Regions from separate parts of the Homo sapiens genome. Here all the other regions are linked to region 1. Evidence: promoter capture Hi-C in 16 types of primary human blood cells and fetal thymus (Javierre and others, 2016). All regions are on one chromosome and are shown on one strand. Each heading gives the region's core, a stretch centred on a gene start or on the middle of the fragment in contact. The rest is flanking DNA. Distances are from core to core; before and after follow the strand shown. Region 1 holds the start of TGFB1I1 (transforming growth factor beta 1 induced transcript 1). Region 2 overlaps ZNF267 (zinc finger protein 267). Region 3 overlaps ZNF668 (zinc finger protein 668). Region 4 has its middle 34 kb from the start of ZNF267. Region 5 overlaps KAT8 (lysine acetyltransferase 8). Region 6 holds the start of PRSS36 (serine protease 36). Region 7 has its middle 4.4 kb from the start of FUS.

Region 1 (2,781 bases), core at 194-2,693:
CCCTAGTGGCTGCCCCAGTCCCCAACATCCGATCTCACCTGTGGCTGGTGGCCATAGGATGGGGGAGGGGTGAGAGGCTCCGCAGGGCGCTCTTTGGGAGCCCCTGACCTTGGCATGTGCGAGGTGGTAGTCTCCAGGTCAGAGAGCAGGGCATCTGCAGGAAGAGGCCATCAGGGAGAGAGACAAGGGTCACGGTTAGATCAGAAGATAAGGTTCCCAGTGGGCAGTACTGGAGAAGGACAGAAGCCAGTATTAAGAGAAGAGGTCACAGGGCCAGAGCCAGGCAGAGCACTGCTCGAAGGGTAGCAAGGAATATTTATGACCAGAATATCCCAGTTGCTCACGCTTGGAGCCAAGCACAAACCCAGCCTCCTGATTATTTTATTCTCCCCATCTTCTCTGATGCAGTCAAAATGGGCTCTTCACCCAAGCCAAATTTGGCTCCCCTCCAAATTGCTCCATTGGCCCAGTGCCTGGCCCTCAGCTTTCTGATTGGACGCTCTCTCTTCCATGCTGGTTAACTCCTCCCTCTACCTACACAGGCCCCGCCCAGCCTGGCCACTCCCAGGCCCCTGAGTCCCGCCCTGGGCTCCTCACTGGCGCTTCGCTGGGACCTGCCTTCTGATTGGCTGTTTATCTGCGGTACAGCGTCAGTTACCCCTACCGAGCAGCGCCCTCTACCGCCAGGGGCCGGAAGCCCCTCTCTCCCGTGGAGCGCACAGCCTTCCAGCCCCAGGCTTCGCAGGGAGGACGAGATACCTGGGTCCCCCTTCCGGACAAGACACCTCTCTCCATCCCTGCATCCCCAGATCCGGGTCTTTTGAGCCCTTTCACTTCCAGAACCCAGAAGTCCTGCCCTCAGTCTTCGTCTCTGAGCACCCGCGTGAAACCCTGAAGCCTTCGCGGGCGCCTAGGCACTCCTGAGTTACTATTCTCTTCCTTGCCTCAAGGACCTGACCCTCACTGTGCTCAGGAGCCCTTAACTCCTCCTCTCCCAAAACTCTGGTGCAGGCAGGCCCGCTTTTTTTCTCCAAAACTTGATGCCAGACTTTCCCGTGCCCTCTACTTTCCCGGTCCCCGGGCCGAGGCCCCTTTAACCCCTCCCTCCCCAGAGCCCCGCGCCCGGGCGCCCGCGGGCGCCGCACCTCCCGTTCCATCTGCCGCAGCCTGGGATGGAGGAGCACAGCGAGGGAAGAAGGGAGGGAGCGGCCGGCCCAGGAAAGGCAGGAAGGGAGAGGCAGGAAGGGGGACGTGGAGTTGGAAAGGAGGCGCGGGCAGAGGCGAAAAGCAGAAGTAAGAAGACAGGGATGGGGAGATGCGGGAGAGCGACGGCGGGGAGGCAGCTCTGGGCAGCGGTGAGGGGCCACGGACCCGGGGATCCGGCCCCACTCACCCAGGTCCTCCATGGCGGGGCGCGGGCCGGTGGCGCGGGGCGAACAGGGCGGGGGCCGTGTCCGGTGGGGGCGGGGGGCGGGGGACGTCCGGGAGCTGGAAGCCCGGCCGTGACCATGTAAGGAAGCCGGGACCCGCTGAGATGGGGATGGGGGGGCGATGAACGGGGGAACCCGAGGTGGGGGCGTGGAAAGGAGGGAGCGCCCCGGCCCACCCGAGCCCAGCCCGCCGGCCTGCCGCGGAGGCGGCCACACCCCAGCCTTGGCCTCAGCTGCAGGGAGCCCCAGGAGGCCAGAGCCAGAGAGAAGTGGCTTCTCCAGACCAAGCCCCAGAGCCGCTCCCTAGGGAGACTTACAGACACGGACTGAGGCCCCCAAACAGACACCGCTCAAAGCTAGCGCCTGAGTCCTAGACAAGAGCCTCCCTCCCACCCATGCCATTCCTGGGAGACTTGTCCCAGACGGAATTTTTGGATTGGTAGCAGGAGTGATATTCTAAGGCTCAATTAGACCTCAGGTTCGGAGACCCTCCCATCGGAGACCCTGACAGATAAATAGAGGCCCCAAGAGGCATACATACCAGACACAAAGAAATCTGAGGGACGGGGACAGACACAGTGAACCCACCCACAGACTCTACACTAGGACCTTCCCTCCAAGACTTGGTCATGGACACACGTAAACTCGAACCCGGGCGCAAGCCCCTTGCAAATTCGGGGAAAACACTCCCAGGCAACCAACCCCCAGCCAGCCTGCAAGACAAAGCCCTTCCTCAGCACTGAGGTGGCCCAGGCCTGCTCTGAAACAGCCCTTTCCCAAGTTACTGATGAACTCAGAGCAGAAAGCAAGACACAGTCTCCAGCCACAAAGTGGCAAGGCCTTCCCTGGACTGAGACCCTGAGAAACGAGGTGGAAACGAGAGGCCATAGAGGTAGTTATGGACAGACAACTGTGCTGCAGCCACTCTTCTGGACAGATCTGAGCACTGGAATGTGAGTATCAACCCAGCAGCAAATCGGAACAACCTGGGGAGCTTTTTAAAAATGCGAGACAGGCATGGTGGCTCACACCTATAATCCTAGCACTTTGGGAGGTCAAGGCGGGCAGGTCACTTGAGGTCAGGAGTTCGAGACCAGCCTGGCCAACATGACAAAACCCCATCTCTACTAAAAACACAAAATTAGCTGTGCGTGGTGGTGGGAGCCTGTAATTCCAGCTACTTGGGAGGCTGAGACAGGAGAATTGCTTGAAACCTGGAGGCAGAGGCTGCAGTGAGCTGAGATTGTGCCACTGAACTCCTGAGCAACAGAGGAGACCCTGTGTCAAGAATAAAAAAGAAAAAGAAGAAAAAATGGGCAAACGACCTGAATAGACAGTTCAAAGAAGTTAT
Region 2 (2,781 bases), core at 211-2,710, 410 kb before region 1:
CCCACAGGACAGGATTAATTTCTAACTTAGTACTGTGCTCAGTAGAAAAAATAAGACATTATAGAAGATTCTTGAAAAGTATTTCTCAAAATATTGTTTCCTACCAGCTTCTTTAGAATATTTAGGAAGCATTTTAAATCTGGGGATCCTGAGCTTCTGCAAATCTGACTGAATCAAAAACAAACAAAAAAAATTGGATTTTAAAGTGTAAGCAACAATAGTTTATGTCAACCAATTTCTAGAATCACGACTAGAGTGAAACTTGTACATCACCTCAAATAAAAAGGCGAATGTCAAAATCAAACATTATGAAATTTTTTCTACTTCAACAAAACCCCTATTTTTTTCCTGAAAACAAGAATCTAAAACTAACTCATACAAAGCACAAGATCCCAAGGGACATTCTGAAAAGAAAATAAAACTCTTAGTTATTAGATATTCCGAAGGCAAGTTATCCTCACCCAGAGAGACCAGGTTTCTGTAGTTTTCTAACATCACATCCTGATACAAATTCTTCTGAGCTGGTTCCAGGTGTTCCCACTCCTCCAAAGAGAATTCTACGGCCACATCCCTGAATGTCAACAGTCCCTGAAATAAAAATAAAGAATACACTGACCATGTGGCCATGGCAGAGTTCTTCATTTGTCCCAAGATGAAATGACAGTTATTGGTTCTGACATATATGAGTGACCTGAATTATTCAGTAAGATCATTTTTAACACAGTAATATTTTCTAATGTAGTCTCAAACTCTGTGGAAAGAAAATAACATAAAATCCACAAAACTAGTGTAGATATTTATATCAAATGTAAAATATAAAACTAAGGCATCAACACAGGAATATACATTTTTGGGTGCTATATTTACATCATCCAGAATCAGCTGTGTATAATTCTCAGGTGCAAAAGTCATGGTGACTTAGAGGCATACTTCTCAAATTGTATAGTATACAACAATAAACTGGAGATCTTCTTCAAAGGCAGAGTCTGATTCAGGAGATCTAGATTTTGAGTTTCTGCATTTCCATATTTTTTAATTTTTAATTTTGACACAGGGTCTCGCTCTGCCACCCAGGCTGGAGTGCAGTGGTTGAATCTTGGCTCACTGCAGCCTCAACCTCCTGGGCTCAGGCGATCCTCCTGTTTCAGCCTCCTGAGTAGCTAAGGCTACAGGCATGAGCCACCATGGCTGGCTGAGTATCTGCATGTCTAACAAGTTCACCAGTAGTGTTAATGCTTCAGGCCCCAAAGCCACTTTTGAATAGCAGAGAGGTCGAACACTGAGGAAAGAATTCAGGCATGATGTGAAACTGAGAGTTTTATGAAATTTACAAGTTATAACAGCTAGAATGGTAGTAATCCTTTTTGAACATGCACAATATATCAGATATCATCCTAAAAGTTGTTTACATATATAAAACCCAATAAATAATCTGAGAAAAATTATATTCTTCCTCTTATATAAAAATTATTTTCCAAATATTTGCTACATAGTAGTTTGTATTTTGCCTCAGTTTATCTGATTTAGAATTTATCTCAAAGGGACATACCGGCCAATATACAGAGACAACCTTAACAGAATGTTCAGAGAAGATTTCGTAACTGAGTAACGAAAACAAGAAAGCAGCCACACAATAGTGATCGAATAATGCTTTCATTTTATGTGCATATGTGCACATAATGGTAACTATATACACACTAAAAGTAAGATAATATTTCTGTGTAAATAAAATTTAAAAATATTTTAAATTGTATAAAAACTATAAAACTCTTTGTGGGTGATGCCTTTTTTGTGATGCCTTTATAAAGACCAATACATACAATGAAATAAAGTAAAGGCTCTTGTTTCTGAGTCTGGTATTTTTTTTCAAGTTTTTGTTATGTTTATTCTATGTGCTATTATATATTTTAGAATTTTAAGACAATAGACATATTTGTTATATGTTAATTCTTGTTCTTTCTCTGAAAATATAGAGAATAAATAAGCATATGCTTGTGACATGAGATGAAATAAAATGGAAACCTACAGAACTGAGACCTGCTTCAGAACTTCCAGTCTTAAAAGCTGTTATCTCCTGTCAACAAATGTGAGAGCCTTTACTCTGCAAAGAAAGCTACAAGCAAAGGGAAACCAAAAAGAAATGGGAGTCTCTGGATTAAATGTGATGGTTTATAGACATCACTCAGTAAATCCTCCCTCCTAGATACTCATTACAAAGAGAAAAATGATTAACTTTATAGCGAAGGAATCTGACAGAGAGCACCTGCACCAAGTGAATGAAGTTAGCATCGTCTGTAATAAGACAAATTGGTACCAGTGCTAATGCACAGATGGGCCCATAATCATTGCTGTGATATGGGCGGAGGGGAACAGTAAATCATAATCTTAATATAATCATAAAAAAACAATCTGTGGGGGAAGATACAGGTGACCATAGATCTTCAAACTGGTTATGTGACCCTACTTAGAAGCCTGGGCTGAGAATCACTTAGCTAAGCATTGCCTCTCAAGGTTCAATACGCATACATATCATTTGGTATTCTGGGCCCCCTCTAAGTAATGTGATTCTGCAGGTTTGGAAAGTTTCCATGAACTGGCTTCTTTAACAAGTCCCCTGTCAATGCTGATGTTGCTCCTCCTAGACCCATTATCAATAGCACTCAGCTAGAGGAAGCAGACACAGCACAGAGTCCCTTACGCCCAATACTCTAATCACAACAAAAATACTTTTCGTTCACAGTGAGGACCACCAACCACTGTCCTGAAAGATCACACCCTTTG
Region 3 (2,781 bases), core at 93-2,592, 400 kb after region 1:
GTCCTAGAGAACGCCATCTTGCAAGCCTTTGTCCCTCATTCGGCCTTCCGTCCATTCATTTGTTCATCTCCTCATCCTTCGTTCAGTCCTCCTTGCCACGTCCTCCGAAGCCACGTTTTCTGAGGCTTATAACCGGGGTCCTGCCCTCCAGGGGCTGCCTGGCTGGCGGGGGCGCCGCGTACAGACGGTTGCGAGGAGCGAGGAGCTCCGGGTTTCTGCAACTCTCGGCTCCTCGGCGCGCTTCGTAGGCCCCACCGCCCTTCAAACTCCCACAAACTTAAGGGACCCCATTTTACTGATGAGGAAACTGAGGTCCAGAGCGGCGTGGGGCCCTTACCTCTCTACTGCCATAAAGTATTCCTGAGGGCACTAGGGAAGGGGGTTCTTGAAGGATGTAAAGGGGCTTTCCCGTTGGAGAAGGCAGGCAAGGGCTCCCCGAGCCCAGGAAACTGCATCTAGAGGTGGAGGATTGAGAATTGTGGCTGGAGGTTCGGTCGCTGCCGGGAGGAGGACTCTGTCGCTGGAGCTGAGGCTGGAAAAGTAGGTTGGGATCAGGTTGTGAACTGGCCCGGTAGGAGGCCTAGGATATGATTAGCGCTCACTTCTGCAGGGTTCATCCGCTCACTACGTCACTCCTGGCCGTGAGGCCTGTGTGGTGACTGCTTGTTTAGAGATGGGAAGATTGAGGTGCCTCCTTTTTCTCCTCATCCCTGCCCCAGGGTCCTAGCCTAGGATTTTTGGAAATTGAATCTTTGCTTGCCTAGTGAGACAGCAGAACTTCATCCCCTTCCTAAGCCAGTAGTGAGGCAAAGCAAGGCTTCATCGCCACGACAGGGAGCCCACTGTGGGATATTGGGGCAATAGTTGAGCCTTGTGGAGTTGGAAAGGTGGAGGAATTTAGTTAATAAACAGTTATTGGTGGACATTCTCACAAACTCCTACTGTGGAGGAGGCAGAGGCTACAGACCTGGGTTCAAATTTCATCTGAGGTTGGTTCTTTCCATTTGTTTTGGGTCACCACACAGGGTTCTGGGTGTAGAGGAGGCAGATGATCGGTTTCCTAGCCCTTTGCCAGCCTGGACTCTGGTGCTGGTGATGAAGAATTAACAGCCAAACCATAAGATGTGTAATGCTAGCAAAGCAATAGTCAGGGCTCAGAGAGCAGGTGTTTGGGATTTGAACACTGGCTGGGACCGTGACTAGTAAGCTTGTTTCTTTGTGGTGTCACTTCTCATAAGAACGCTAATCCTACTGGACCAGGGCCATACCCTTATGACGTCATTCAGCCTTAATTACTTCCATAAAGGCCTTGTCTCCAAATACAGTCACAATGAGAGTTAGAATTTCAATATATGAATGGACAGGGAACACAAACATTCACTCATAATGAACTGCTAGGCAGCTGTGCAGTTGGCTTGAGTAGTTGAGTATTATGCACAAAATGCTTAGAATGATACCTTGCCCATGGTAAGCTTGCAAGGAGTATTGTCCAGATGACACCATAAAGGAAATTAGAGAGGAGGGGTGCTGGTCACTGTGGCTCATGCCTGTAATCACAGCACTTTAGGAAGCCATAGTGGAGGAGCATCTGAAGCCAGGAGTTCTTGAGACCACTGTCGGCAGCGTAGTGAGACCTCCATCTCTATATACAAAGAATTTTTAATAAATTAGCGAGGTGTGGTGGTGGGTGCCTATAGTCCTAGCTACTCAGGAGGATTGCTTGAGTGCAGGAGTTTGAGGCTGAAGTGAGCTATGATTGAGCCACTGCACTCCAGGGTGACAGAGTGAGACCCAATCTCTAAATAAAAATAAAGGCCAGGCACGGTGGCTCACGCCTGTAATCCCAGCACTTTGGGAGGCTGAGGCGGTCGGATCACTTGAGGTCAGGAGTTCGAGACCAGCGTGGCCAATGTGGTGAAACCCTGTCTCTACTAAAAATACAAAAGTTTGCCAGGTGTGATGGCTTTCGCCTGTAGTCCCAGCTACTCGGGAGGCTGAGGCTGGAGAATCACTTGAATCCGGGAGGTGGAGGCTGCAGTGAGCTGAGATGCAGCCACTGCACTCCAGCCTGGGCAACAAAGACTTTCTCTCAAAGAAAATAAATAAATAAAAATGAAATAAATAGGCCGGGCATGGTGGCTCAAGCCTGTAATCCCAGCACTTTGGGAGGCCAAGGTGGGTGGATCACCTGAGGTCAGGAGTTCCAGACCAGCCTAGCCAACATGGCCATCTCTACTAAAAATACAAAAAATTAGCTGGCTGTGGTGGCAGGCACCTGTAATCCCAAATACTTGGGAGGCTGAGGCAGAAGAATTGCTTGAACCCAGGAGGCAGAGGTCGCAGTGAACTGACATCACACCATTGCACTCCAGCCTGGGCAACAGAGGGAGACTCTGTCTCAAATAATAATAACAATAAATAATAAAATAAATAAAAATAAGCCAGGCACGGTGGCTCATGCCTGTAATCCCAGCACTCTGGGAAGCCGAGGCAGTGGATCATCTGAGGTCAGGAGTTCGAGACCAGCCTGGCCAACATGGTGAAACTCCATCTCTACTAAAAATACAAAAAATTAACCAGGCGTGGTGGTGGATGCCTGTAATTCCAGCTACTCGGGAGGCTGAGGCAGGAAAATCTCGTGAACCGGGGAGGCGGAGGTTGGAGTGAGCAGAGATGGTGCCATTGCACTCCAGCCTTGGCAACAAGAGTGAAACTCTGTCTCAAAAATAAATATATAAATAAAAATAAAAACATTTTTTAAAAAGTAAAGAGGGCTGGGTG
Region 4 (2,781 bases), core at 208-2,707, 370 kb before region 1:
CTATGGGTTTGTCATATATGACTTTTATTGTGTTGAGGTACATTGCTTCTATACCTAATTTGTTGAGAGCTTTTATCATAAAGGATGTTAAACCTTGTTAAATGCTTTTTATGCATCTATGGAGATGATCATATGGTTTTTGTCCTTCATTCTGTTACTGTAGTGTGTATTACATTTATAGATTTGTGTGTGTTGAATCATCCTTGCATCTCTGTGACAAATTCCATGTGATCATGGTGAATAATCTTTTTAATGTGCTGTTGAATTTTGTTTGCTAGTATTTTGCTGAGGATTTTTGCATTTATGTTCATCAGAGATATTGGCCTGTAATTTTCTTTTCTTGTAGTATCCTTGTCTGGCTTTGGCATCAGGGTAATGCTAGCCTCATAAAACGAATTTGAAAGTATTCCTTCTTCTTTAATTTATTTGAAGAGTTTGAGAAGGTTTAGTTTTTAAAATGTTGGTAGAATTCTTCAGTGAAGCCATCTGGAAACTGGATTAACTGGGATAGGACTGGAGCCTGAATACAAAGGAGCTGGTCTAGTGCTGGGGTGGCCCTAGGTCTGCAGGGTCCTGGGGCCTGGGTCTACCAGGGATAGCCGGAGCCTGTGTCTGCAGGGGTAGTCCTGGAGCCTCAGGTTGCAGTGACTGACCTGGAACTGGAGTTCACTTGGGTGAGCATGGATCCTGGGTTCACTGGAGTCTGAAGTTCGTGGGACTAGACTGAAGCCTAAGGCTAGCCTGGTGCTGGGGCAGGCATAGAGCCTGGGTTTGCAGGGGTGTGTCTGGAGCCTGGGATTGTGGATACTGGCCTGGAGCCTGGTCCATAGGGGATAGTCTGGAAGCTGGGTATGCAGTGCTGGCCTGGAGGCTAGGTCTTCGAGGGGTGGCCTGGGTCATGGGGCCATGGAGGCAGTCCTGGAGCCTGTGTCCATGGATGCCAGGTTGGTGCGTGATGACAGGGTGCCAACTTAGGGCTGGGGCAGGCTGAAGCCTGGGGCTGAAGGGGTGAACCTGGCTCTGGGCTTGGCTGGACCCTGGAGTAGTCCGGGAGGCTGGTCCATGGGTACTGGCCTGATGATGTAGGGCTGTGGAGCCAGCCTGGTGCTGGGGCAGATTGAAGCCTAGTGCTGGGAGTGGCTCAAAGTCTGGGTCAATTGGGGCTGGCCTGATACTGGGGAAGGCCCAGAGACAGTCTGTGAGGCTAGCCTGGAGCCTGAGAATGTGAGGAGAGGCAGAGAGCCTGGGTTTGTAGAGGTTGGCCTGTGCTAGGGCAGGCCTGAGGCCCATGGCCACTGGGGCTGGCCTGGTGGTGGGGCTGGCCTGGAGACCAAGCCTTCCAGGAAGGCCTGGAGCTTGAGGATGCAGAATCCAACCCAGTGCCTTGGTGGACCTGGCAGCTCAGTCTGCTGATGCCAGCCTGGACTTTGGGGTCATGGGGGCCTTCTTGGTGCTGGGTTTCACTGGGGTCGGGTAAAGGGCTGGTGCTGGGGTCCAAGGGAGGGTCCAGTGTTCACTTCCCTGTCCCACCTGGTGGAGGTGTCTCTTGCCAGACTGTGCTGCAGAATGTGGCATGTATGCTTAAGAAGAATATATATTCTTCTGCTGTTGGGTGAAAAGTTTTGTATATGTCTGTTAAGTTTATTTGGTGTATAGTGTTATTCAAGTTTCCCATTTCTTTATTAATTTTTTGTCTTCCACGAGTAGTATTCCATGGTGTGTGTATGTGTGACATTTTCTTTATCCAGTCATCTATTGATGGCCACTTAGGTTGATTCCATATCTTTGCTATTGTGAATAGTGCTGCAATAAACATATAAGGGCAGGTATCTTTTTGATATAACAATTTATTTTCTTTTACGTAGATACGAGGTAGTGGGATTGCTGGATTGAATTGTAGTTCTATTTTTAGTTCTTTGAGAAATCTCCATACTGTTTTCCACAGAGGTTGTACTAATTTACATTCCCACTAACGGTGTGTAAGGGTTCTTTTTTCTCTATATCCTCACCAACAGCTGTTATTTTTTGTCTTTTTTTTTTTGTTTTTTTTGAGATGGAGTCTCACTCTGTCACCCAGGCTGGAGTGCAGTGGCACAATCTCAGCTCACTGCAACCTCCACCTTCCAGGTTCAAGCAATTCTTCTGCCTCAGCCTCCTGAGTAGTTGGGACTACAGGTGCGTGCCACCATGCCTGGCTAATTTTTTTTATTTTTATTAGAGACGGGGTTTCACCGTGTTAGCCAGGATGGTCTCGATCTCCGGACCTCGTGATCTGCCTGCGTCAGCCCCCGAAAGTGCTGAGATTACAGGCGTTGAGTCACCATGCCCGGCTTGTCTTTTTAATGATAGCTATTCTGGCTAGTGTAAGATGATTTCTCATTGTGGTTTTAACTCGCATTTCTCTGATGATCAGTAATGTTAAGCATTTTTTCATATGTCTGCTGGCCATCTGAATATCTTCTTTTGAAAAATGTCTATTCATGTCCTTTTTCCACTTTTTTTTTTTCCCCGAGATAGAGTTTTGCTCTTGTTGCCCAGCCTGGAGTACATTGGCATAATCTTGGCTCACTGCAACCACCTCCCAGATTCAGGCGATTCTCCTGCCTCAGCCTCCTGAGTAGCTGGGATTATAGGCATGCGCCACTACGCCTGGCTAATTTTTGCATTTTTCATAGAGACGGGGTTTCTCCATGTTGTTCAGGCTGGTCTCAAACTCCTGACCTCAGGTGATCCACCCGCCCCAGGCTCCCAAAGTGCTAGGATTACAGGCATGAGCCACCA
Region 5 (2,781 bases), core at 123-2,622, 350 kb after region 1:
GCCAGCAACAGCAAAGCCAGGCCTGGAATCCAGGCCTCCTGACCCCCAGCAGCTCTTCCCTGTACTCGCTCCTTTGGGCCTGTCTCCTCCCTGGAGCTGCCGGCGCAGCCGCCCTCAGTCTCCATGCCTGCCTCTGCCTCTCACCGGGCCCCTGCCCAGCTCGGCCCGGCCGGCCCAGCCTCACCAAGTGGAAGCGGTAGCTCTTCTCATATTTCATGTACTTGAGGCAGTACTCGCAGAGCCAGAGCTTGGGCTGTTTCCCATAGTCTTCGGGGAATGGTGAGAAATACCAGGCATCAATTTCGTAGTTCCCGATGTGGATCTTGTCCACATACTTCACCTTGGTGATCTGCAGGCAGGGTGGGAGTGAGGCACAGTGCACGGCTCAGCAGGGGCTCCTCGGCAAGGGGAGACGGGGGACCTGCAGGCAGCTTCCCAGCCCCACTTACCGCCTCATGCTCCTTCTCCAAGGCTGCTGTGGTGGGGTCCATCTCTGCATAAGTCTGGGCCAGGAAAGAAAAGTGGGCAGAGGTGAACAGAAGTGGTGACCAGGCTGTCCCTCCCGTCAGGACCCACAAGGCTTCCCTGCCGTCTACCAGACCTCATTCCTGGATGGCAATAATAACCACACCAATAGCTAACCTATCTGACTTGGTTCTGAAGCTGGCTGGTCCAGACTCCTCTCACACCCACCCGCCCCACCCCCGATATCCCAGACATCCCTGATGTCCAAGTTTGGACCTTTTGCCAGATGAACAGGGTTAGGATCAGGATGGGGCTTCAGCTGCACGATGGGGGGCAATCCAGCTCTGCCAAAGTTGTGAGACTCAAATGAAATAACAGATTTGCCTTCCAGGCCCAGCGTAAGAACTGTTACTACCTCCCCGATGTTCCTGGACCCCTTTCCTGAGGACCAGACCCTGCCTGCCCATGCGACTGCCCCAGAGGTCCCTCCCACAGGGACAGCGGACTCAAGATGTGCAGAAAGGACCTCATCACTCCTCCCTGCAAACCTGCGCCTCCTCCTGGGTTGCTCATTTTACTGGGAACATCACCCTTGGTCCCAGTGTCCAAGACCCATAACTAGGCTTGCCTCAGACTACTCTCTCTCCCTCGGCCTGGCCAAGTCCTAATACAGTGGATGTCGAGTCTACTTCTGACATCTCTGGAATTGGGCCCTCTCTGGAATTCTCCTCTCTGTCCTGCTCCAGGTAGTCATGGCCCCATCTCAGGTCTGGACAATTTACTAGGCCGCCTCAGACTCCCTGCCTCCAGCCCCAGCCTCCTCATTGCTATCAGCAGCCCCCTTTTAGCGGCCTTCATGCTTCTGCACAAACAGCTCCTTCTACCTGGAGAATGCCCTTCCTTCTCTCACTGCCAGCAGAAAACACTTCCTCAGCCTGGCACGGAGCATGAGTCAGGTGAGTCCATGATGCTTTGTGATCTATCCTTTGTCACTGTTGTTATTGTGCTCTTTCCCATCCTTCAAGGCTTGAGATTCTTACCACCCCCTCCAGGAGGCCTGACTGGATTCTTCCCATCCAGAAAACATTCCCTCCTTCCCAAGTTCAGCGAGAAGTGGTCAACAGGGCAACACTGTCCAAGTATGCCCACCTGGGTTCCTCTATTTTTCAAGTCCTTAGAAAGCAGAGACTAAGAGTCACACCACACTCACAACACATCCTGCTCCTAGGCCAGACCCTGTGGGAGGAACCCAGTACAGCCTGACAATGGAAGGGGGACCCAAGACGGTCCATGACCTACACCAGGGCAGACAAGGCCCTGCCCTGTAGCTGAGAAGGGAGGAAGGAGCCAGTGCTTTACCCAGAACCCCCTCCACAAAGCACTGTGCCTATATGTTTATATGGCCTCATTTAATCCTTTCAGTAACCCTTACATAGAGTGTTATTTCTTTTTTTTTTTTTTTTTTTTTTGAGACGGAGTCTCACTCTGTTGCTCAGGCTGGAGTACAGTGGCACCATCTCGGCTCACTGCAACCTCCGCCTCCCAGGTTCAAGCAATTCTCCTGCCTCAGCCTCCCAAGTAGCTGGGACTACAGGCACATGCCGCCACATCCAGGTAATTTTTGTATGTTTAGTAGCAATGGAGTTTCGCCATGTTGGCCAGGCTGTTCTCAAACTCCTGACCTCAGGTGATCAACCAGCCTCGCACTCCCAAAGTGCTGAGATTACAGGCGTGAGCCACTGCACCCAGCTGCGTTATTTCAATTTTACAGAGTAGTAAACAGGCAGGGCAAGGTGAGGTCCCTTACCCTCGGGGACTAGTGAGCTGCCATTTATTCCAAGTGGCAAGCACGGCACAGACATGTTTTTTTTTTTTTCTTCTGAGATAGACTCTCACTCTGTCGCCCAGGCTGGAGTGCAGTGGGGAGATCTCAGCTCACCACAACCTCTGCCTTCTGGGCTTAAGTGATTCTCCTACGTCAGCCTCCCAAGTGGCTGAGACTACATGTGCCTGCTACCATTCCCAGCTAATTTATTTTGTTTTTTGAGATGAAATTTTGCTCTTGTTGCCCAGGCTGGAGCAATGGTGCAATCTTGGCTCACTACAACCTCCACCTCCTGAGTTCAAGCGATCTTCCCACCTCAGTGTCCCAAGCAGCTGGGATTACAGGCGCCCACCAGCAAGCCCGGCTAATTTTTTGTATTTTTGGTAGAGATGGGGTTTCACCATGTTGGCCAGGCTGGTCTTGAACTTCTGACCTTCAGATGATCCACCCACCTTGGCCTCTCAAAGTGCTGGGATTACAGGCATGAGCCA
Region 6 (2,781 bases), core at 208-2,707, 320 kb after region 1:
ACCATCCCTCTTTGGTTTCCTTTTTTTTTTTTTTTTTGTGAGACGGAGTTCGCTCTTGTCACCCAGGCTAGAGTGCAACGGCGCTATCTTGGCTCACTGCAACCTCCACGTCCTGGGTTCAAGCATTTTTATCTGCCTCAGCCTCCCTAATAGGTGGGATTACAGGTGAGTTCCACCACACTCGGCTAATTTTTGTATTTTTAGTATAGATGGGGCTTCTCCAAGTTAGCCAGGCTGGTCTTGAACTCCTGACCTCAGGTGATCTGCCCGCCTCGGCCTACCAAAGTGCTGGGATTACAGCCGTGAGCCACCCAGCCTCTTTGGTTTCCTTTGACCCTGCCTACACTTCTATAAATAGTTTCTTCCTTAAACTCTCTTCAACTCCTCTTTGAAGAGCCATATGTTTCTTTCTTCTTCTTATTCTTCTTTTTTTTTTTCTTTTTGTTGTTGTTGTTGAGACAGGGTCTCGCTTTGTCACCCAGGCTGGAGTGCAGTGGCACAATCATAGCTCACTGCAACCTCGACCTCCCAGGCTCAAGCAATCCTCCCACCTCATCTCCCGAGTAGCTGGGATACAGACGTGCACCACCACGCCCTGCAGTTCATAATTTTTGTATTTTTTAATTTTTTGTAGAGATGGGGTCTTGCTATGTTGACCAGGCTGGTCTTGAACTCCTAGCCTCAAGCAATCCTCCCACCTCAGTCTCCCAGAGTGTTAGGATCACAGGAGTGAGCCACCGTGCTCGGCCAAGTCATATGTCCCTTAAACTGGCTCTTACTGATACACACCAAGAGGTTGGGTTACTTTCCCAAAGTCACACAGAGTAAGTGACAGGGCAGCTAAGAGCATTGTCACTGGAACACAGAGCAGGGTGGAGGCTTTTTCAGCCTCGCCAGCCTGCCCAGCCCCCTCCCAGGGTCCCTATGCCCTGCCCAACCTGCTGGAATCTGTGATCCTTTTGTTGGGATGGGATTGAATTCCCTAGGGCTCCTGTCCCAGACCTGGCCAGCAGCTCCAGTAACCAGAGCTGTGTGAGAAGAAAAGGCCAAGCCACTGGGGCAGCCGCACCCCAAACAGAGGTGAGGTCTCCGATGAGTCATGCCCGTGAGGGGCCACTTCCCCTGTCCTAAGGGCCACTGCTCACCAAGGACACAGAACACTGTCCTCCTCTTTGACCTTTGCCTGCAGTGTTTTTCATCCCTCCCTCTCCCACCCAACAGGTGTCCAGGAGCTAGGACACCTGTCCTCCACCCCCACCCTGGGCCTCCAGAGACATGAGATGTGCGCAGGGCTCTGGGTGGGGCCTTCAGGCTCCCCAGCTTCCCCCTTCCAGCCCCAGATCCTCTCAGATTCCCAGAGATGGGCTCCAGCCAGGGAGGGTGGGGCTGCCCCTGGGACCATCAGGAGTCACGGGCTGCCTGGGCAGTGACAGAGCCCTGCAGGGAGCAGACCTTCACTTGGCTCTGCCTCCGCTGACTCTAGCGCCATGGCCCGGCACCTGCTCCTCCCCCTTGTGATGCTTGGTAACCTCAGGGGACAAGAGTGGCTGCAAAGGGCCTGGGTCCTGGCATCTGGGGGGCTGGAGAGCAGGATTCCTGGTTTCTGTGTGGGGAGCAGGAAGTCAGAGAGAAGGAAGTGAGGCAGCAGAAGGCGAGGATGTATCAGAGGAGGGAGAGGGAGGCCTGGGTGCCCTGGGGAGACGGAGGCTAGGAGGCTGGGGGAGGGAGTCAGGGAGGGCACATACTGAGTGCGAGTCGCCAGCCTCTTCCTGCCTACCTCTGTCTTTCCAGTCATCAGTCCCATCCCAGGAGCCTTCCAGGACTCAGGTAAGGTAGCCGGACTGGGGGAAAGTCACGTGCAGAGGCAGAAAAGACCAGAGGACTGGCATGGGTGCTGGCAGGGGTTGCTGAACGGACAGGGAAGTGGGAAGATAGGGTCGGGGGTTGGAGAGCAGGAAGTGGGGCTGGGCGGTGCAGGCCTGGAAGTCACAAGTGTCCTCCTCTCTTTCCCCTCTGGCTCCCAGCTCTCAGTCCTACCCAGGAAGAACCTGAAGATCTGGGTAAGGAAGAGGCCTTGGCACCCTCAGACCTTAAAGGAGGCTAAGGCTGGTCAGGCCATGAGGGAGGTGGAAAAGACCAGAAATGTAGACAAGCCTGGGTCCTCTATGTTCTTTGTTCAGAGGGGCAAACTGAAGTGGGTGGAGGACGGGCCTTCGTCCTGAGTTACCTGGGCTTCTGGAGTGGGGAACCCGAGGGGAGCTTTGGCTTCCACGGCTCCCCGTTGCAGACTGCGGGCGCCCTGAGCCCTCGGCCCGCATCGTGGGGGGCTCAAACGCGCAGCCGGGCACCTGGCCTTGGCAAGTGAGCCTGCACCATGGAGGTGGCCACATCTGCGGGGGCTCCCTCATCGCCCCCTCCTGGGTCCTCTCCGCTGCTCACTGTTTCATGACGTGAGTATTCGCCCTGGTCCTGGCCCCTCTCCGCCAAAAGCTGGCCCCCGCCCCCGCAGTTGGTCCCCTCCTCCCGCCCCACTTCCGTCCTCAAGGATAATTTGGAGCCAAGCTGTCCCCAAAGCGAGGTGCTATTCGAGGCATCATGGTTCCGAGTGGGGCAAGGCTGCCGGACTGGTCCCACCACTCCACTCAATATCCGGGTCTGAATCCCATCTTTCCAATGACCCCCCCACCACCAGCTCCAAATCGGATTTGCTCTTCCCCTTTGAGGAGTATCAGCACCAAATCTGGATCGGATAGCACCTGCCCCTCTGGCTCTGAGCCCCTG
Region 7 (2,781 bases), core at 127-2,626, 300 kb after region 1:
CCTGAAGCCAAGGCTTACTGGATAAGTAGAAGTTTGCCAAGCAGCAAGGGAGGAAAGGCTATAATAGGCAGAACCGCGAAGACAAAGGCACAAGTGGGGAAGACACTGAGGCAGAGTTCAGGCTCCAGCTGTGACTCTGGGCTGGGCATGGTGGCAGATGAGACTCGGCCTCAAAAAAAAAAAAATATGTGACTCTGAAAGACTAAATCAAATGGCCATTTCTTTCTTTCTTTTTTTTTTTTTTTTGAGATGGAGTCTCACTCTGTCACCCAGGCTGGAGTGCAGTGACGTGATCTCAGCTCACTGCAACCTCTGCCTCCCGGGTTCAAGCAATTCTTGTGCTGCAGCCTCCCGAGTAGCTGAGATTACAGGCATGCATCACCATGTCCAGCTAATTTTCCTATTTTTAGTAGAGACGGGGTTTCACCATATTGCCCAGGCTGTTCTCGAACTCCTGATCTCAAGTGATCCACCTGCCTCGAATGTTTTAATTTTTTTAACTAGTTGCCAACACTAAAAATAGTGGGCCATTCCAGGCCCACTTCCATAGGGCAAGGGTCAGCTGGAGTGAGACACTGTCACCTTTAGCTGCCATATGTGCTTTAAGTTCACCATAAATGTCTTATTTACTTCCTATCTCTGACAGGAAAGTCAATGTTAAATTTTTCTTTTTTGAGACAGGGTCTTGCTATGTTGCCCAGGCTGGTCTTGAACTCCTAGGCTCAAGGGAATCCTCCCAAAGTGCTGTGATTAAAGGTGTGACCACCACACCCAGTTTCAATTAACATGTATATCAGATATTGGGCCAGATGCGTTCGCTCACACCTGTAATCCCAGCACTTTGGGAGGCTGAGGTGGGCAGATCATGAGGTCAGGAGTTCGAGACCAGCCTGACCGACCTGGTGAAACCCCATCTCTACTAGAGATACAGAAATTGGCCGGGCATGGTGGCGCGCATCTGTAGTCCCAGCTACTCGGGAGGTTGAGGCAGGAGAATTGCTTGAGCCAGGGAGGCAGAGGTTGCGGTGAGCAGAGATTGTGCCATTGCACTCCAGCCTGGGCGACAGAGCAAGACTCCATCTCAATAAAAAAATAAACACGTATATCAGATATTGATTTTTTTTTGAGACAGAGTCTCACTCTGTCACCCAGGCTGGAGAGCAGTGCTGCAATCTCAGCTGACTGCAACCTCTACTTCCCAGGTTCCAGCAATTCTCCTGCCTCAGCCTCCTGAGTACCTGGGATTACAGATGTGCACCACCACACCCAACTAATTTTTTTAGTAGAGATGAGGTTTCCCTATGTTGGCCAGGCTGGTCTCGAACTCCTGACCTCAAATGATCTGCCTGCCTTGCTTTCCCAAGTGCTGGGATTAGAGGCATGAGCCACTGCACCCAGCTCAGATATCCAGATATTTATTTAGTTAGTTAGTTTTAATTTATTTATTTAATTTTTTTGTTTGTTTTTTTGAGACAGAGTCTCCCTCTGTCACCCAGGCTGGAGTGCAGTGGCACAATCTCAGCTCACTGCAACCTCCGCCTCCGGAGTTTGCAGTTCTCTGCCTCAGCCTCCCGAGTATCTGGGATTACAAGCTCCCACCATTACGCCTGGCTAATTTTTTGTATTTTTAGTAGAAACAGGGTTTCACCATCTTGGCCAGGCTGGTCTTGAATTCCTGACCTCCTGATCCACGCGCCTCGGCCTCCCAAAGTGCTGGGATTACAGGTCTGTGCCATCGTGCCAGGAAGTTACATATATATATATATTTATTTATATTTATATATATTTGTTTGAGATGGAGTCTCGCACTGTTGCCTGGGCTGGAGTGCAATGGCGCGATCTCGGCTCACTGCAATATCTGCCTCCCAGGTTCAAGCGATTCTCCTGCCTCAGCCTCCAAGTAGCTGGGATTACAGGCACCCGCCACCACGCCTGGCTAATTTTTTGTATTTTTTTTTAGTAGAGACGGGGTTTCACTATGTTGGCCAGGCTGGTCTCAAACACCTGACCTCGTGATCCACCCCTCCTCGGCCTCCCAAAGTGCTGTTACAAGCATGAGCCACTGCGCCCAGCCCCAGAATTTATTTTTTAAAGACAAGGTCTCATTTTGTTGGCCAGTTTTGTCTTGAACCCCTGGCCTCAAGCAATCTTCCTGCCTCGGCCTCCCAAAGTGCTAGAGTTACAGTTACAGGCATGAGCCACTGCGCCTGGCCTAGATCAAATATTTAATGCAATTTTTCTTTTTCTTTTCTTTTTTTTTTGAGCAGGGAGAGGTTGGTTTTCACATTTCTAGTGGGAGCCATGGGAGGGTCCTCCTTTGGCAGTGGAGGTGCTCACAATTTCTTCAGCCACTCCAAACTGGGGCCTTGGGGGTCCTGGGGGTGGCTGGGCACATCGGGCATGTTCCCATCATTGCAGACAGGCACTGGGTAGTTGTAGGGCCTTGCCTCGTTGATCATGATGGAGTACTTGGTGTGGGGACTAAGTGGGGGTAGAATTACAGTGAGGCTCCGGATGACAGAGGACAAGACCAGCACTGGCTCCTTGGCCCAGGAAATCTTGAGGAAGGTGCTGAGTCTCGTGGCCTTCTTGGTCTCGGTGGTGATGACAGCGGCCTTTTTTTTTTTTTTTGAGATTGAGTCTTGCTCTGTCACCCAGGCTGGAGTGCAGTGGCGCGATCTCGGCTCACTGCAACCTCCGCCTCCCAGGTTCAAGCAATTCTCCTGCCTCAGGCTCCCGAGTAGCTGGGATTATAGGCACGTGCCCCTACGCCCAACTAAT

The links. Contacts are between HindIII fragments. The CHiCAGO score rates a contact against its expected background, and 5 or more counts as called.
Region 2: a contact is called between a fragment that was not itself captured here and the fragment with the promoter of TGFB1I1 in region 1, in 12 of 17 cell types (neutrophils, naive CD8 T cells, M0 macrophages and 9 more). The highest score is 15.9, in neutrophils.
Region 3: a fragment that was not itself captured here is called in contact with the fragment with the promoter of TGFB1I1 in region 1 in 7 of 17 cell types (naive CD8 T cells, total CD4 T cells, fetal thymus and 4 more); the score reaches 9.8 in naive CD8 T cells.
Region 4: a fragment that was not itself captured here is called in contact with the fragment with the promoter of TGFB1I1 in region 1 in 4 of 17 cell types (M1 macrophages, activated CD4 T cells, M2 macrophages and 1 more); the score reaches 7.1 in M1 macrophages.
Region 5: a contact is called between a fragment that was not itself captured here and the fragment with the promoter of TGFB1I1 in region 1, in 2 of 17 cell types (naive CD8 T cells and non-activated CD4 T cells). The highest score is 6.3, in naive CD8 T cells.
Region 6: a contact is called between the fragment with the promoter of PRSS36 here and the fragment with the promoter of TGFB1I1 in region 1, in 4 of 17 cell types (monocytes, naive CD8 T cells, endothelial precursors and 1 more). The highest score is 8.1, in monocytes.
Region 7: a fragment that was not itself captured here is called in contact with the fragment with the promoter of TGFB1I1 in region 1 in 1 of 17 cell types (non-activated CD4 T cells); the score reaches 5.9 in non-activated CD4 T cells.

Annotation. Positions count from the first base shown.
Region 1 is chr16:31,470,814-31,473,594 of GRCh38, reverse strand. TGFB1I1 (transforming growth factor beta 1 induced transcript 1) reads right to left here and starts at 1,443. Exons shown (of 11, transcript NM_001042454.3): 1 at 1,394-1,443; 2 at 39-154. The coding sequence starts at 1,406. RefSeq lists an enhancer at 564-1,104. The HindIII fragment of the contact is 20,246 bases long and covers 1-2,781 here.
Region 2 is chr16:31,882,305-31,885,085 of GRCh38, reverse strand. ZNF267 (zinc finger protein 267) reads right to left here. Exons shown (of 4, transcript NM_003414.6): 2 at 462-588. Among named protein-coding and RNA genes, the nearest start is that of ZNF267, 9.9 kb to the right of the region's middle. The HindIII fragment of the contact is 4,868 bases long and covers 1-2,781 here.
Region 3 is chr16:31,070,499-31,073,279 of GRCh38, reverse strand. All of the region lies in intron 1 of ZNF668 (zinc finger protein 668), which reads left to right. It also overlaps a transcript of ZNF646 not described here. Among named protein-coding and RNA genes, the nearest start is that of ZNF668, 2.4 kb to the left of the region's middle. RefSeq lists enhancers at 1-72, 1-164. The HindIII fragment of the contact is 265 bases long and covers 1,210-1,474 here.
Region 4 is chr16:31,838,058-31,840,838 of GRCh38, reverse strand. No RefSeq gene overlaps it. Among named protein-coding and RNA genes, the nearest start is that of ZNF267, 34 kb to the left of the region's middle. The HindIII fragment of the contact is 2,976 bases long and covers 1-2,781 here.
Region 5 is chr16:31,124,757-31,127,537 of GRCh38, reverse strand. KAT8 (lysine acetyltransferase 8) reads right to left here. Exons shown (of 11, transcript NM_032188.3): 4 at 450-503; 5 at 185-349. Among named protein-coding and RNA genes, the nearest start is that of KAT8, 8.5 kb to the right of the region's middle. The HindIII fragment of the contact is 7,764 bases long and covers 1-2,781 here.
Region 6 is chr16:31,148,742-31,151,522 of GRCh38, reverse strand. PRSS36 (serine protease 36) reads left to right here and starts at 1,457. Exons shown (of 15, transcript NM_173502.5): 1 at 1,457-1,524; 2 at 1,792-1,827; 3 at 2,025-2,060; 4 at 2,288-2,450. The coding sequence starts at 1,488. RefSeq lists enhancers at 1,213-1,749, 1,750-2,285, 2,286-2,781. The HindIII fragment of the contact is 9,446 bases long and covers 1-2,781 here.
Region 7 is chr16:31,174,377-31,177,157 of GRCh38, reverse strand. It overlaps the pseudogene NDUFA3P6. Among named protein-coding and RNA genes, the nearest start is that of FUS, 4.4 kb to the left of the region's middle. The HindIII fragment of the contact is 8,665 bases long and covers 1-2,781 here.